Regions from separate parts of the Homo sapiens genome. Here all the other regions are linked to region 1. The links are contacts of gene promoters, found by promoter capture Hi-C in blood cells and fetal thymus (Javierre and others, 2016). All regions are on one chromosome and are shown on one strand. Each heading gives the region's core, a stretch centred on a gene start or on the middle of the fragment in contact. The rest is flanking DNA. Distances are from core to core; before and after follow the strand shown. Region 1 holds the start of FANCG (FA complementation group G). Region 2 has its middle 18 kb from the start of RUSC2. Region 3 overlaps RUSC2 (RUN and SH3 domain containing 2). Region 4 holds the start of RUSC2 (RUN and SH3 domain containing 2). Region 5 has its middle 11 kb from the start of CIMIP2B.

What was found. The method cuts DNA at HindIII sites, captures the fragments that hold promoters and counts their contacts. A CHiCAGO score of 5 or more calls a contact.
Region 2: a contact is called between a fragment that was not itself captured here and the fragment with the promoter of FANCG in region 1, in 5 of 17 cell types (M0 macrophages, M1 macrophages, M2 macrophages and 2 more). The highest score is 9.9, in M0 macrophages.
Region 3: a fragment that was not itself captured here is called in contact with the fragment with the promoter of FANCG in region 1 in 2 of 17 cell types (monocytes and M0 macrophages); the score reaches 5.9 in monocytes.
Region 4: a contact is called between the fragment with the promoter of RUSC2 here and the fragment with the promoter of FANCG in region 1, in 2 of 17 cell types (monocytes and M2 macrophages). The highest score is 5.8, in monocytes.
Region 5: a fragment that was not itself captured here is called in contact with the fragment with the promoter of FANCG in region 1 in 1 of 17 cell types (endothelial precursors); the score reaches 5.1 in endothelial precursors.

Annotation. Positions count from the first base shown.
Region 1 is chr9:35,078,692-35,081,391 of GRCh38, reverse strand. FANCG (FA complementation group G) reads left to right here and starts at 1,450. Exons shown (of 14, transcript NM_004629.2): 1 at 1,450-1,951; 2 at 2,151-2,241; 3 at 2,656-2,700. The coding sequence starts at 1,868. RefSeq lists enhancers at 1-604, 1,821-2,428 and a silencer at 1,580-1,745. The HindIII fragment of the contact is 2,060 bases long and covers 671-2,700 here.
Region 2 is chr9:35,471,136-35,473,888 of GRCh38, reverse strand. It overlaps the pseudogene ATP8B5P. Among named protein-coding and RNA genes, the nearest start is that of RUSC2, 18 kb to the left of the region's middle. The HindIII fragment of the contact is 1,104 bases long and covers 803-1,906 here.
Region 3 is chr9:35,553,767-35,556,466 of GRCh38, reverse strand. RUSC2 (RUN and SH3 domain containing 2) reads right to left here. Exons shown (of 12, transcript NM_014806.5): 3 at 766-1,407; 4 at 330-515; 5 at 19-159. Among named protein-coding and RNA genes, the nearest start is that of CIMIP2B, 8.8 kb to the left of the region's middle. The HindIII fragment of the contact is 1,113 bases long and covers 866-1,978 here.
Region 4 is chr9:35,488,771-35,491,545 of GRCh38, reverse strand. RUSC2 (RUN and SH3 domain containing 2) reads right to left here and starts at 1,435. Exons shown (of 12, transcript NM_014806.5): 1 at 1,374-1,435. LOC105376026 (a long non-coding RNA gene) reads left to right here. Exons shown (of 2, transcript XR_929580.4): 1 at 1-115; 2 at 290-427. RefSeq lists a silencer at 1,467-1,766. The HindIII fragment of the contact is 5,552 bases long and covers 1-2,225 here.
Region 5 is chr9:35,573,628-35,576,356 of GRCh38, reverse strand. No RefSeq gene overlaps it. Among named protein-coding and RNA genes, the nearest start is that of CIMIP2B, 11 kb to the right of the region's middle. The HindIII fragment of the contact is 7,332 bases long and covers 1-2,729 here.

The DNA.
Region 1 (2,700 bases), core at 201-2,700:
AGGGCAGTGGTGTGATCATGGCTCACTGCAACCTGGAACTCCTAGGCTCAAGGGCTCCTCCCACCTCAGCCTCCCAAGTAGCTGGGTCTACAGGTGTGTTATTGTGCCAGGGTTAATGTTTTAAATTTTTTGTAGAGATAATGTCTCTACAAAAGACACCATCTTTGTTGCCTAGGCTGGTCTTGAACTCCTGGCTTCAGGGAATCCTCCAGCCTCAGCCTCCCAAAGTGCTGGGATTACAGCATGAGCCACATCCAGCCTATGATTTTTCTTCTTTTCTTTTCTTTTCTTTTCTTTTTTTTTTGAGATGGAGTCTCGCTGTTGCGCAGGCTGGAGTGCAGTGGGGCGATCTCGGCTCACTGCAGGCTCTGGCCCGCGGGGTTCACGCCTTTCTCCTGCCTCAGCCTCCCGAGTAGCTGGGACTACAGGCGCCCGCCACATCGCCCGGCTAATTTTTTGTATTTTTAGTAGAGACGGGGTTTCACCGTGTTAGCCATGATGGTCTCGATCTCCTGACCTCGTGATCCGCCCGCCTCGGTCTCCCAAAGTGCTGGGATCACAGGCGTGAGCCACGGCGCCCGGCCCCAGCGTATGACTTCTTAATGATGTCTTTGTAGTACAAGAGTTTTTAATTTTAATAAAGTTAACTTTTTTTTAAATTGTACAAGCTTTTAGTGCTGTGTCTAACAACTTGTTGCCAAACCCAAGGTCATAAAGCTGTTCTCTTACGTTTTCTTTTTTTTTTTTTTTTGAGACGGAGTCTCACTCTGTCACCCAGGCTGGAGTGCAATGGCACGATGTCGGCTCACTGCAACCTCCGCCACCCGGGTTCAAGCGATTCTTCCGCCTCAGCCTCCGGGGTAGCTGGGATTACAGGCGCACGACACCACGCCCTGCTAATTTTTGTATTTTTGTAGAGAAGGTTTCACCATGTTAGTTAGGCTGCTTTACGTTTTCTTTTAGAAGTTTTATATTTTTGGCTCTTATATTTAGTTTGTGATCCATTGAGTTGATTTTATGTACGTATGTATGGTCGCGTTCTTTTCTTTCCTGTCTTTTTTTTTTTTTTTTTTTGCATATGGATATTCAATTCTCCTAGCTCCATTTAATTTGAAATGATTGGGCAGGTACTTTTGAGCAGTGCAAGTACAGAGCGGCACTGCCAGCAGACTACACGCGGTAGAAAGCCGACCTTGGTGAGCGTGTTGGTGCTCGACAGTGAGCAGAGAAAGGATGGACGATTACGGAGCGCCCTCGTCTCCAGTTACCGCTTTCTGGAAACACCATCCGCCGGGGCGGAGCTGTTCCGCCCCGGTGCGGTACTACGACTCCCAGCATGCACCTCGCAGTCGGCCCTCGGTGGAAGCGGGAACCCAGGAGGACCTGGGGGTGTGGCAGCGAGGAAGGGCCGAGCCACGGACTGTGGGGCCGAAACTCGCTCCCGCCCACCCTTTCTCGAGGCTGTGGCCTCCGCGAGAGCCGAGCGGGCCGCACCGCCGGCCGTGCGACTGCCCCAGTCAGACACGACCCCGGCTTCTAGCCCGCCTAAGCCTGTTTGGGGTTGCTGACTCGTTTCCTCCCCGAGTTTCCCGCGGGAACTAACTCTTCAAGAGGACCAACCGCAGCCCAGAGCTTCGCAGACCCGGCCAACCAGAGGCGAGGTTGAGAGCCCGGCGGGCCGCGGGGAGAGAGCGTCCCATCTGTCCTGGAAAGCCTGGGCGGGTGGATTGGGACCCCGAGAGAAGCAGGGGAGCTCGGCGGGGTGCAGAAGTGCCCAGGCCCCTCCCCGCTGGGGTTGGGAGCTTGGGCAGGCCAGCTTCACCCTTCCTAAGTCCGCTTCTGGTCTCCGGGCCCAGCCTCGGCCACCATGTCCCGCCAGACCACCTCTGTGGGCTCCAGCTGCCTGGACCTGTGGAGGGAAAAGAATGACCGGCTCGTTCGACAGGCCAAGGTAACACGGTTGCTGGCACCCTCGGTTTGCAGCCTCAAGATCCCTGAAAGCGGGTTTGCAGTGGATTTACCCCAACCGATGGGGAGGGACTGAGCTTGACCAAAGAGCCAGAAATGACTGGAGAATGCATCCCTTGCCACTGCTGCAAGGGGAGAAAAAAGGATTGATCCTCAGTGACAACCCCTCCCTCATGTGGCAGGTGGCTCAGAACTCCGGTCTGACTCTGAGGCGACAGCAGTTGGCTCAGGATGCACTGGAAGGGCTCAGAGGGCTCCTCCATAGTCTGCAAGGTAGGCGGGTCCTCCCCAGGATGGTCAGTTCCCCTCTTCCATAGCCAGAGAAACATCCGCTCCTGCGTTTTTGGGATCGATATAATTACTCGGGGCAGGGAGTCCTGTTTAAGGCACAGAGGAGACTGGAGTGGAATCATCTTTGTACAGGCAAATCCCTCTCTTCCTTACACACTCACAGAGTGGCATTTGAAAAATGGTTTCCAAGATGGTCTGATCTGGATAACTTTTTTGCCCTTTCCAGACTCTCTGTCCAAAGGTTGGGTTCTTTTTTTAAATCCTTAGCTAATTGGCTGGAGGGTGGGTTCTTTATTGTAGCTGTTTTGGTTGGAGTGGGGTGATCTCTGAGTTGGGATTTTATTTGGAGGATCTTCCATGGGGGAGCAGTCTGTAAGACCAACATTGTTGCTCCAGGGCTCCCTGCAGCTGTTCCTGTTCTTCCCTTGGAGCTGACTGTCA
Region 2 (2,753 bases), core at 105-2,604, 390 kb before region 1:
TAAAAGCTTTAATATTTCAGTGGCTAAGGGAGTCTCGATTTGTATTAAGGATGCTTCTCTGAAGCACAGCCTCACTCAGCTCCCACATGCATTTCCCATGGAGCTGTAATCACTCACCTCAGAGACCGTCACCCTCTGTCCATCCTTGTCATAAGTATCACCTGTTGGTAAGTGAACACAGCAGAGACTTGGCAAGGGTTTTAAAGGAGGGTTTGAATTTCTTTAAATTGTTGTTAAAAAAATATACATATATATCACATAAAACTTGCCATTTTAACTATTTTAAATGTAAAATGCAATGACATTAATTATATTCACAATGTTGTGCAACAATCACCACTATATATTTCCAACATTTTTTCAGCACCCCAAACAGAAACTTCCCATTTTTTCCCATCACCAGCCCCTAGTAACCTCTAGTCTATTTTTTGTCTCTATGAATTTGCCTATTCTAGATAGTTCACATAAGTAGAATCATAAAATTTTTGTCTTTTTGTGTTTAGCTTACATCACTTAGCATAATGCTTTCAAGGTTCATCCATGTTGTAGCATGTATCAAATTTCATTACTTTTTATGGATGATTCACATTCCATTGTATGTATATGCTATACCACAGTTTCTTTATCCATTCATCTGTGGATGGACATGTGGGTTATTTCTATCTCTGGACTTATGCGAATAATGTCACAATGAACGTTGGTATACATGTATCCGAGTTCTTGTTTTCAAGTTTTGGGGGTATATACCTAGGAATCAAATTGCTGGGTCATATGGTGATTTAAAGGAGGGGCCTTAAAAGCTTATTTATTCTGATTCCTTCATCCTAGACTTGCAGTCAAGATGCCTGCCCCCCAGTCTCCTCAGGCCACCTAGCTCCCAGTTCCCAGTAAGCTCCTTTCCCTAAGCCAATGGTAAGAAGAGGTTTGCTTGGGCCTCAACTCTTCTCCCCTAAGTGAGAATAAGATGAAGCTAGAAGTTAGTCACTGGATCTGTGATAGACTTCACACCTCAGGAAGCCCTCCAATCATAAGAGTTACCCAGAAGAGATGTGGACACAGTTTTAGAATGTTTGGGATTCTTGACCAGTGGATGACAGACTGAATAGGGGTAGAAGACATGTCTGATGCCAAGCATGGAAACACTCATGGTCCTTTTCAACTTTACCCAGTATATGGTCAGGTCAGAGAATTAAGAGGCTCACCCAAATCAGCTCATCCAAAAATAAGCCTTCAGAGTTTATATAAGTGAAAATTTGTTTGACATGGTTACCAAACAAATAATAGGAAATATAGGAAATAATAGGAAATATTAGAGTGCTCTAGTCTTTTTTTTTTTTTTTTTTAGACAGGAGTTTCACTCTTGTCACCCAGGCTGGAGTGCAGTGGCATGATCTTGGCTCACTGCAACTTCCACCTCCCGGGTTTAAGAAATTCTCCCACCTCAGCCTCCCAAGTAGCTGGGATTACAGGCATGTGCCACCATGCCTGGCTAATATTTTTGTATTTTTTGTTGAGATGGGGTTTCACCATGTTGGCCAGGCTCGTCTCGAGCTTCTGACCTCAGGTGATCCGCCTGCCTCAGACTCCCAAAGTATTGAAATTACAGGCGTGAGCCAACGCACCCGGCCTAGCTTTTTTTAATTAAAAAATTTCAATTACTTATTGATATGAAATTTACTTAGTTAACATATAATTATCCATTTTAATGTGTACAATTTAGAGGCATTTAGTGCATTTACAATGTGCAACTACCACCTCTCTCAAGTTTCTAAACTTTTTCGTCACCCCAGAAAGATTATTCCATGTGTTCTAGTTTTTTAGATGTGATTACCTTCCTCTGTTAGCTAGGACACTGGGTATGACTGTTCACACACATGAGGACTTAACTCTATCACAAAAACAAGCTTATGCTTAAGGCATAAGATAAATAAGGGATTGGGCCTGGGAGACACTGATCAAACTCTGACTACCCTTTGATGGTTTCTCTCAATAATATTTATTGCTGTAAAGGGGAATCAAGAAATTAGCAGCTTCAGTAATACATTGACTGCTCCATTTAATTTATTTTTAATTTTATTATTAATTGACAAATACTAATTGTATATATTTATGGATACAATGTGATGTTTTCATATATGTATACACCATGGAATGATTATATCAAGCTAACTAACATATTTATCACCTTGCATACTTATTTTTTTGTAGTGAGAACATTTAAAACTCTTTTAGTAATTTTGAAATATGCAATACATTATTATTAACTAGGATCAACATGCTGTGCAATGGATCTTGAAGACTTATTCCTCCTGCCTAACTGAAACTTTGTACCCTTTGACCAACATCCATCTGATTTAAAGTGGGAGTGAACTGAGTACATAGACATTGGGGACTCCTTGAGGACAGAGACTAAGTCTTGCACATCTCGGTATTCTCAATGCCCAACACAATAGATTGTACCTATAAGATGCTAAATAAATGCTTTTTGGTTAGAACTGTTTGGGCTGGGTGGTCTTTGCTTAGAGAATAGAGACAGTTGTGAGAATAGGAGATAAATGTGAATTCCAGAGGCTTACAGATTTAGAGCTAGATTAGTCTTGAAAACAATTTGCAAAGTAAAAATTTCCCAGGACTTGGGGAAAGCAGGAAGACATGCATATCATAGAGCTTCCCATTAATAGAACATTTGTTGAAAATCATAATGTTCTGAGTCAGAGTCCCTGTTTTGTCAGAGAACACATATTTGACTTGGC
Region 3 (2,700 bases), core at 173-2,672, 480 kb before region 1:
GCTGGGGGTTGTATGCACCTTTTTTCTGAAGCAGGTCAATGGAAATGGCCTCTGAGCTGCCATCTGGGGACAGACAAAACTCAGCTGGAGGCTTCTCCGTCAAGGAAAAGGGGTCCTGGAAGTCAGGGCAGGTCAGTGGTAACGGCTTCACTGCTTGGCCTGGAAAGAAGAGAAAAATCAATCCTGAGCAACTCTCAGTGCAGGAGTTCCAGGCCAGTTCAGTGCCTCGTACCGTCTGAGACACGTTCCTTTGGGACTGACCCCTTCTCTAGCCCTTTCCAGCCATGGCAGAGCCTGCCCCGGGTGTACTGGGGACCCTGCTCACACACCATTCAGCCGGCAGTTCAGATGGCTGGCAGCACTGAGGGAGCCAGGGAACTCAAAGATAGGGTTTCTTCGGGCCAGCCGAGCTTCTTGTGATCTTCGGTCTAGGCTCCCTGACAAACCAGGTGGCCCTAGTGGGTTCTTCCTCCTGTATTCCCGCCACTTGAGGGCTTGAGGGGATAGGTGGTTGGCTGGAAGCAGAACAGATTAGCAGAAAGACAAGAGTTGGCAGGAGACAGCGAGACAGAGTTTCACATCCACCCAGTGGGCCCATATGAAACACTAGATTATCTGTGGATATTATCTACAGATGCTGAGGGAGGGATGCAGACATCCTAACCTCTGGCCCCAGGTGAGAGTGTAAGCAACCACTCAAAGGGGAGGTGGTGGAAGTGCTTGCGTGAGGTGGCGGGTTGGGTAGGGAGATGCTGGAGCTCGTACCATTACTGGGCCTGGTGGCCATGCTGCCCTCACCACCTCCCCGGGCCAGGCTCTCTGCTCGGCTGAGGCCAGATCGCCAGGAGCCCAGAGGCGGCAAGCTTCCTGTTCCATGGAGCCGGTACTCAGTCAAGGTCAGTATCTTCTGATCCTCCTTCTGCGGCTGCTGGGAGGTGGCAGGCCGGACAGCAGAAGGACAGGAGTGGCTCCATGGGGGCAGGCTTTCTGTGGCTGTGGGCTGCTCTGGGGGAGGGGAGCACGAAGTGGAGGCAGAAGAGTCAGTGCTGGGCCCAAAGGGGCCAACACTCCGGATGGGGGAGTAGCTGCCCAGGGGCGATGGCCGAGAGGTCTCTGGCTCAGACCCAGCTTTCCTGGCACCTCTGCCAGTGGCTCGGGGAGTGGATGCCTGCGGTTCCCCTGAGGGAGCTGGGACTGAGACTTGAGCAGCAGGGGCAGCCAGTGGGGCAGGCTGCTGTGTACGGCTGCAGCCTGAGAGGCTGTAGAGCTGGGAAAGGCTGTGGAGGGCCCGGGCCTTGGCCAGCTGCTTGGGGAAGTGGTGCTGGAACACGAAGGGCTGGATGGGCAGTGTGGTTGGCCTCTGTTCCTTGCTGTAGCGAAGGACTGGTCGGCTCTCGGTGCCACCCCCTGTAGCAAAGGGATGGAGAAGAAATCAGTAGACAGACACTGAAACCCATATGAGAGAAAACCCAGAAGCAGAGATGGGAGAGGGGAGAGGGGCAGGGACCTGGCTGGCAGGAATTGAATGGGGTAGAAGTTCGTGGAATGGGACACTGCTCCCCTCTTTTGTAAAACGCTTCCTATTGCTTTTATGGTGCTGGACTGTCTTGTACCTCTCTGCTGTTCAGTCCCTCTTCATTTTCTTGACTCCAAAGGTGAGTGTATCTTAAGGCTCAACTCTTGCATCTCACCTTACACTTTATTTCTTGAGAAGTTTTGAGTTCAGACTTCTACGGGATGACTCCCAAACCCACAGCTTTAGCCTGGACCTTCCTCTTCATCTCCAGATCATTCTGCTTTATAGTTCTGCTTTCACTTAAAATGTGCTATAACCGCTTATCCATCACCTTTCTCCTTTTTTCCGATGACTTCCATTTCTATCAATGGCAGAACCATTTTCTTTGTTTCTAAGTCTTGGAGTCACAGTCACACACATTTTCAGTGATGAAAATGTTTCAGATGTTACTGACTTCAAGCTTTTGCTCATTATCCCATCTCCAATCATGCCAGCACATTTCATTCCTGAGCATATCGAACCATAGTAAGATATTTCTTTACTTGCAGCCTACCTGTTATCTGTATCTACCCCCACTCCCACTCTTTTCACGATCCTGGCATTGGAACCTCAGAGTCCACATTTGCTCCCCCTGAACGGAGGTATGTTCCCCAAGGCTGGGCCTCTCCTGTTCTTTCAGGCAGTCTTCAGGTCAATGTCCTTCAAAACGTGGTGCTCAGAACTAAACACAAAACTCCAGGACACTGGAGTGGGACAGTGGATGGACTGCACTTCCAACAAAACACTGTAGATCTCCGAATAAACGTAAGATGGCGCTATAAGCACGCACCCGGCCTAAAGCCCTGGTGAAAGCTCACCAGCAGTGGGGCTCAGTAGCTCTGCGAGGCGGGAATTAGTTCTCTTACTTGACATATTAGGAAATGTGAAATGTAGACAGATTAAAGCACTTGCTCAAGGTCAAACAACTAGGAAGTGGCAGAGCTAGAATTCTGCCTAACCCAGAGTCTGATTTCAGAGCCACTGTTCTTTTTACCACATTGTACTACATGTGAAATTGTATCAGGCCAGGTTTTCCTATCCCTCATCTTATTTACATCAAAGAGTCAGAGGGGATGGGGACCACAATCCCATTAGGGAGGTGCTTCTGAATCACTCCCAGGGGACACTTTCAAGCTCCACCCTCC
Region 4 (2,775 bases), core at 186-2,685, 410 kb before region 1:
AAAAAGGAATCTTAAATACCAGCACAGAAATCAGAGGGATCCTAACCTGGCTCAAAACAGAAGAGAAACAGTGGCTGGCCATACAGCAGGACGGGCATAACTAACAGAATACCAGGTATACTGTTTGGATCTGCTCTTCCTTCCATTAAGCCATCCACCACTGCTTAATATCTAAGGAGCCGGCTAAGAAAATCCAGTCACTACTTTTATTTGCTAATACTTTGAGCCCCAGTTACAATAATGCCACTACTAATTAGGTAACTACTTTCTACCTTATCAACTCCTACAGCTTTCCAGCCATTGTTTCATCCCTCAGCGATACCACCTGCTTCCGCGTGGAACCCAAACCCCCAGGAAACTAAATCTGCTCAGGTCACCCACCTAGGAATAAATAAAAACAGGTTTCAGGCCCTTTGTCCTTTGTAAATTCCGCCTTTTTTTTTTTTTTAAGGCCTGTGTTCTTTATCACGGACACTGTTCACATAGTGGTAATCCTTGCCTGACTCAGATCTACTTGTTCCTGCGTTTCATTCCTCCGCTGCTCAATTACTTGTTCAAAACGCAAAGGACAACTGGTAGTGAAGACCCTCCACCAGCAACACTACCATGTGCCAGGCACCGTGCTGGGGACCGGGGATACAAAGATGAGTAGTGTACCGTCCTTGCCCCCAGGACAGTTCCCCGTGTCCGCAGGGCCGGCCTGGAGGGCCACAGCCAACTGTGGGCAACAGGATCACCGTGCCCTTCGCGGCAAGTGAGTGCAGTAGTAGGGGACGGTTACTGCCAAGCCAAAGGTTTTCTCCAGGTAAAACTGGATGACAGAGAGACAGAGACTGAAGCAACGCCGGCGCCGGGCGGATAATAAAGGGAGGCAGGGGCTAAAAGGGTGGAGGGAGCAGAGGACCCGGCCGGGAACTGGCAGTAGGGAGGCCCCCGCTGCAGTCGCCGGCCTGGGTGCCGGGCGGCCACGCTTCCCCAAAGCCGTCACAGGGACTTGGGGTACCAAGGTGACTACTGGGCGCGAGTCGTTTTGTGGGGGGAGGGTGTCCCCAAGGGGGCAGTTTGAGGAGACGGTTGGGGATGCATCTGGGGTGGCGCCCAAAGGGACGGTGGGTGCTGGGTGTTTGAAGGTCCGGTGGACGCAGAGCTGAAGGGTCAGGAGAAGGCCAAGGGTCAGAAGGGCTGGGGACGAGGTCTGCCCAGGGGGTCGGGGCGGACGCAGAGGGCGGGTGCAGCCGAGGGGGAAGGGCTGAAGGGAAGGGCAGGCGCTGAAGGCACATAGGTGGGAAGACAGGCCCTCCCCTAAGGGAGACCTTGGAACGCGGGGCAGTGGGTCTGTGGGACCCTGCCCGCCTCCGGAGAGGCGTTCCTACCTCGTTTCTCGCCTCAGCCTCGTCCTTCCGCGCCGGCGGCGGCGGCGGCGGCGGCGTGTCTCGCCCTCCAGGGGTCGCGTTGCAGGCTAGAGGCGCCGGCGGCCCCTCCCTCCGGGCGGGTTGGAAAGGCCGGCCCCTGTCGGCGTGGCGCGATGGTCCGATCTGGGTTGCCCTCAGGCCGCCCCTCCGGGCGGCGCGTTGGTTCGGTCCGCCCGGCCTAAGGTGCTCGCCCCCTCCCCGGCTCCCGCAGCGATGGGCGCAGCCGAGTCACGCGCAGAGCTTTCCCGCTAAGGGAGCGGAGAGGCTTCCGCCGTGGCCCAATCTTCTGCGGCCCGCGCCCGCCCCCGCGGGGTGGTGCCTGGCGACGCGCGGCTCCCGGGTGCTGGAACCCAGGGAAACCTTCCGCGGGCCTCCAGGGCCGGTGGGTGTGAGTCCCAGCTTCGCCTGAGGCGGCGGTTCTCAACGCTGGCTTCCCAGTAGAACCTAGTGTGGAAACTAACCAAACAACAGAAGGAGGGCTGACCTCACACTGGACCGACTCAGAACCACTGGGGTGGAGTGGGGTGGGGTGAGGTGGGGTTGGCCTCCAGTGCATAGCCAGGGTTCGGAACCCCTGATGAAACGTAGAACCCATGCGCCCCCTGCCCTTCAGGGCCGGATGTGTGGGGGACATGGAAGATGCCTGTGTGTGACTCCTGCTGTTTACAGCCAGAGGGGGATGGGGCAGGCAGTCCTGCAAATGTTATGGGAAACCCACTGTATTAGTCCGTTCTGACACTGCTATGAAGAAATACTATGAAGGAAAGAGGTCTGACTCACAGTTCCGCATTGTTGGCGAGGCCTCAGGAAGCTTATAATCATGGCAAAAGGCAAAGAAGTAGCCATCCTTTTCGCAGGGTGGCAGGACAGAGTGAGTGCAGGCAAGGGAAATGCCAGACGCTTATAAAATCATCAGATCTTGTGGGACTCACTCACTGTCACGAGAAGGGCGCAGGGGAAACCAGCCCCATCATCCAATTACCTCCACCTGTTCCCGCCCTTGACACAGGGGGATTATGGGAATTACAATTCAAGATGAGATTTTGGGTGGGGACACAGCCAAACTGTTACAGGTAGTTAGGCATGAGCGGGGCAGGAGAGGGTTCTCCCCTGCTACCCACTAGGGATGTTGGGTGATGGTTCTGAGGCAGGAGAATAGGGACTGGAGGCAGGGAACCTAAGACTGGTTCATGCCAACTTCCTGGAACTAAATTGAAAGGAAAACCCTAACTTTCCACACCTAAGTAACAAACCCCCCACCCAACTTTTCTGCCCAGCAGATGGGAAATTGGCTATCTGCAACCAATTAGACTGACTGCAGCCGAGTCTAACTTTGCATAGAAGTATAACTTTGTAACTTCAC
Region 5 (2,729 bases), core at 165-2,664, 500 kb before region 1:
GAAAAAGTTGATACCAATATTCCCGTAGTGGGTGGGGCTATAACCTATAATCCTAGAGGGAATGTCAATCCTGAAAACCCCAGAGCATCTGGGAGTGGCCTATCATACCAATGCTGGAAACCCAGAGTGCCTGTTTCAGCCAATGAGGGTCCCCTCACCAAATGCCAAAAACCTGGGGGCACCAAGGGAGTGGCCAACAGTGAACCCAAGACCAAGTTGGGGTCATAGAACAATGTGACTCTGGTGTCCCAGAGTTGACGCAACAGAGCACAACTAAACATCCAGCCTTAAACAATTGCTCAAACACAGTTAACAGAAAGTCAAAAGGAAACATAACGCTTCAAATGAAACGTAAATTTTTGGACTCGAAATAAAAATAAAATGATTGGTGGAACAATAATATGGAGTCAGAGAAGAAAGCACAGGGGGGAGAGGTCACAAGGATGTGCCTCAGGGCACTCATACTGTGGGGGACTTTTAACCACTTAGCCGAAGGCTTTTTATTCCCCAGCTCACTAGATGTTATGGAGTAGGGGAAGAAGGGACACTTACCCATCCATAGGAGCCAAATGGCACCAGCCAGTCTTTCATGTGGGACCCTGGTGAAGGTCCCTCCAGGACCCCCCAGCTTGGGTGGGCTCAGCTGTCACACAGGGGGCAAGCATAGGGACTGGTAACCCACTGGCCTGCCATGGTCAGAGCTCACATGAGGCAGTGACATTATGGCCATTAGTGTGTCTGCTTGGCCCTGCCGCCTGCCAGGGAAAATGATGGCTCTGAAAAGAGCCTTTGGTTAGTGTTAGCAGCTCTTTATTGTTACAGCCTCAGTGTTATAGCTCTTGCAGCCTTGATCACAGACCGCTTTGCGGTCTCTCGCTGTCTCTGCTTGGTCTTGTCAGTCTCTCACTGTCTTCCCAGTTGCTGTCTCTCATAGTCGTCACCTCTCCACTGACCGCTGATTGCCACCGTCTCTGCTGTCCCACCATCTCACCTGTCTGCTGACTGCCACTGTCTCCACTGACTTGCTGCCTCTTGCTCATTATCTTTTTCCTTTCATTGATCACCAGATGATGGGAGGGCAGGTGAGCCCCCAAATTGGGGCTTAGCCTTGGGAGGTTCTTAGCTTTGCCCAGGAAAGAAAATCCAAGGATGAGCCAGTGGTGTTAGACAGCAACTTTTATTGAAGCAGCAGTGTATACTTAAAAAATTTGGTAACAGAGTACATCTTTCTTTTCCCATTATGCTCTTCCAAGATCCTAATAAACCTGCAGAGGTACTGGTCCTTGTGGAGCAGGGCTGTCCTATAGGCTGTATGCTCAGAGCAGCAGCTCAGAGGCAGTGCTGCATTCAGATTTATACCCACTTTTAACTACATGCAAATTAAGGGGTGGACTATGCAGTAATTTCTGTATGTAAAGGGTGGTAACTTCCAGTTCATTGGGTCATTGCTGTGGAAAGGGGTGGTAACTTCTGGGTGTTGTCATGGCAATGGTAAACTGACATAGCACACTGGTGGCCATGTCATATGGAAAACCACTTCTGCCCCATCCCTGTTTTAGCTAGTCCTCAATTTGGTCCGCTGCTGAGCCCTGCCTCTGGAGTCCAGTCCCACCTCCTACCTCATTATCTTGATAGTATTTCAGACTACTCAGGTAGAGTGAATTCCATCTGCAAATCACGCATGAGCCAGCTTGTAGTTATGAAGTTTTAGGGGAAATATGTCCCCCTTTTTCACTTGGTACCAAGTTTTGAGATAGGCAATTTTCTTTGTAGTCCCCTGAGGAAGGATTTGGGGGGCAGATGGATTTCTAGGGGCAAGGTGGGGTGCGGTGACTCATGTGTATAATCCCAGCACTTTGGGAGGCCAAGACAGGCGGGTCACTTGAGGTCAGGAGTTTGAGACCAGCCTGGCCAACATGGTGAAAGTTAGTCTCTACTAAAGTAAATACAAAAATTAGCTGGGTGTAGTGGCGGCGCCTGTAATCCCAGCTACTGAGGTGGCTGAAGCATGAGAATTGCTTGAACCCAGGAGGCGGAGGTTGCAGTGAGCCGAGATTGCACCACTGCCCTCCAGCCTGGGTGACCGAATGAGACTCCATCTCAAAGAAAAAGAAAAAAAAGACTAAAGGGACATAACTTGATGCATGCCAGTTTTATGCAGGAAAAATTTTCTGTTAGACTCTCCATCTTGGGTGGTCACTGAGTTTTATCTCCTTTTCTCAGTACTTCATGAACCTGTGAAAATGAACCTCCAAGTTTGTGTGGCTTGGCCAATGCCATTAAGCCAAAAGTGCCTTCTATCCTTTGCCTAGTTTTTGGCCTCTGATGATTTCCCTTTTTAAAAAATCACTTTATTGACATACAGAAAGTTGTACAGCAGGTTCTCAAATGATGTTTCACTCACTGTTGTTACTTTATAACATTGATATGAAAAAATATTTTATTTTTATCATTTTTTAAACTTTTTATTTTTATAGAGACCGGGTCTCTGTCACCCAGACTGCAGTGTGGCGGTGTGATCATAGCTCACTTACAGCCTCAAACTCCTGGGCTCAAACGGTCCTCCCACCTCAGCCTCCTGAGTAGCTGGGACTACAGGTGTGTACCACCTTGCCTGGCTAATTAGTCCAGATAATTAATTTTAATTAAATTAATTTTTTAAATTTTATTTTTTATTTTTGTAGAGAGGGGGGTCTCCCCGTCTTGCCTAGGCTGGTCTTGAACCCCTG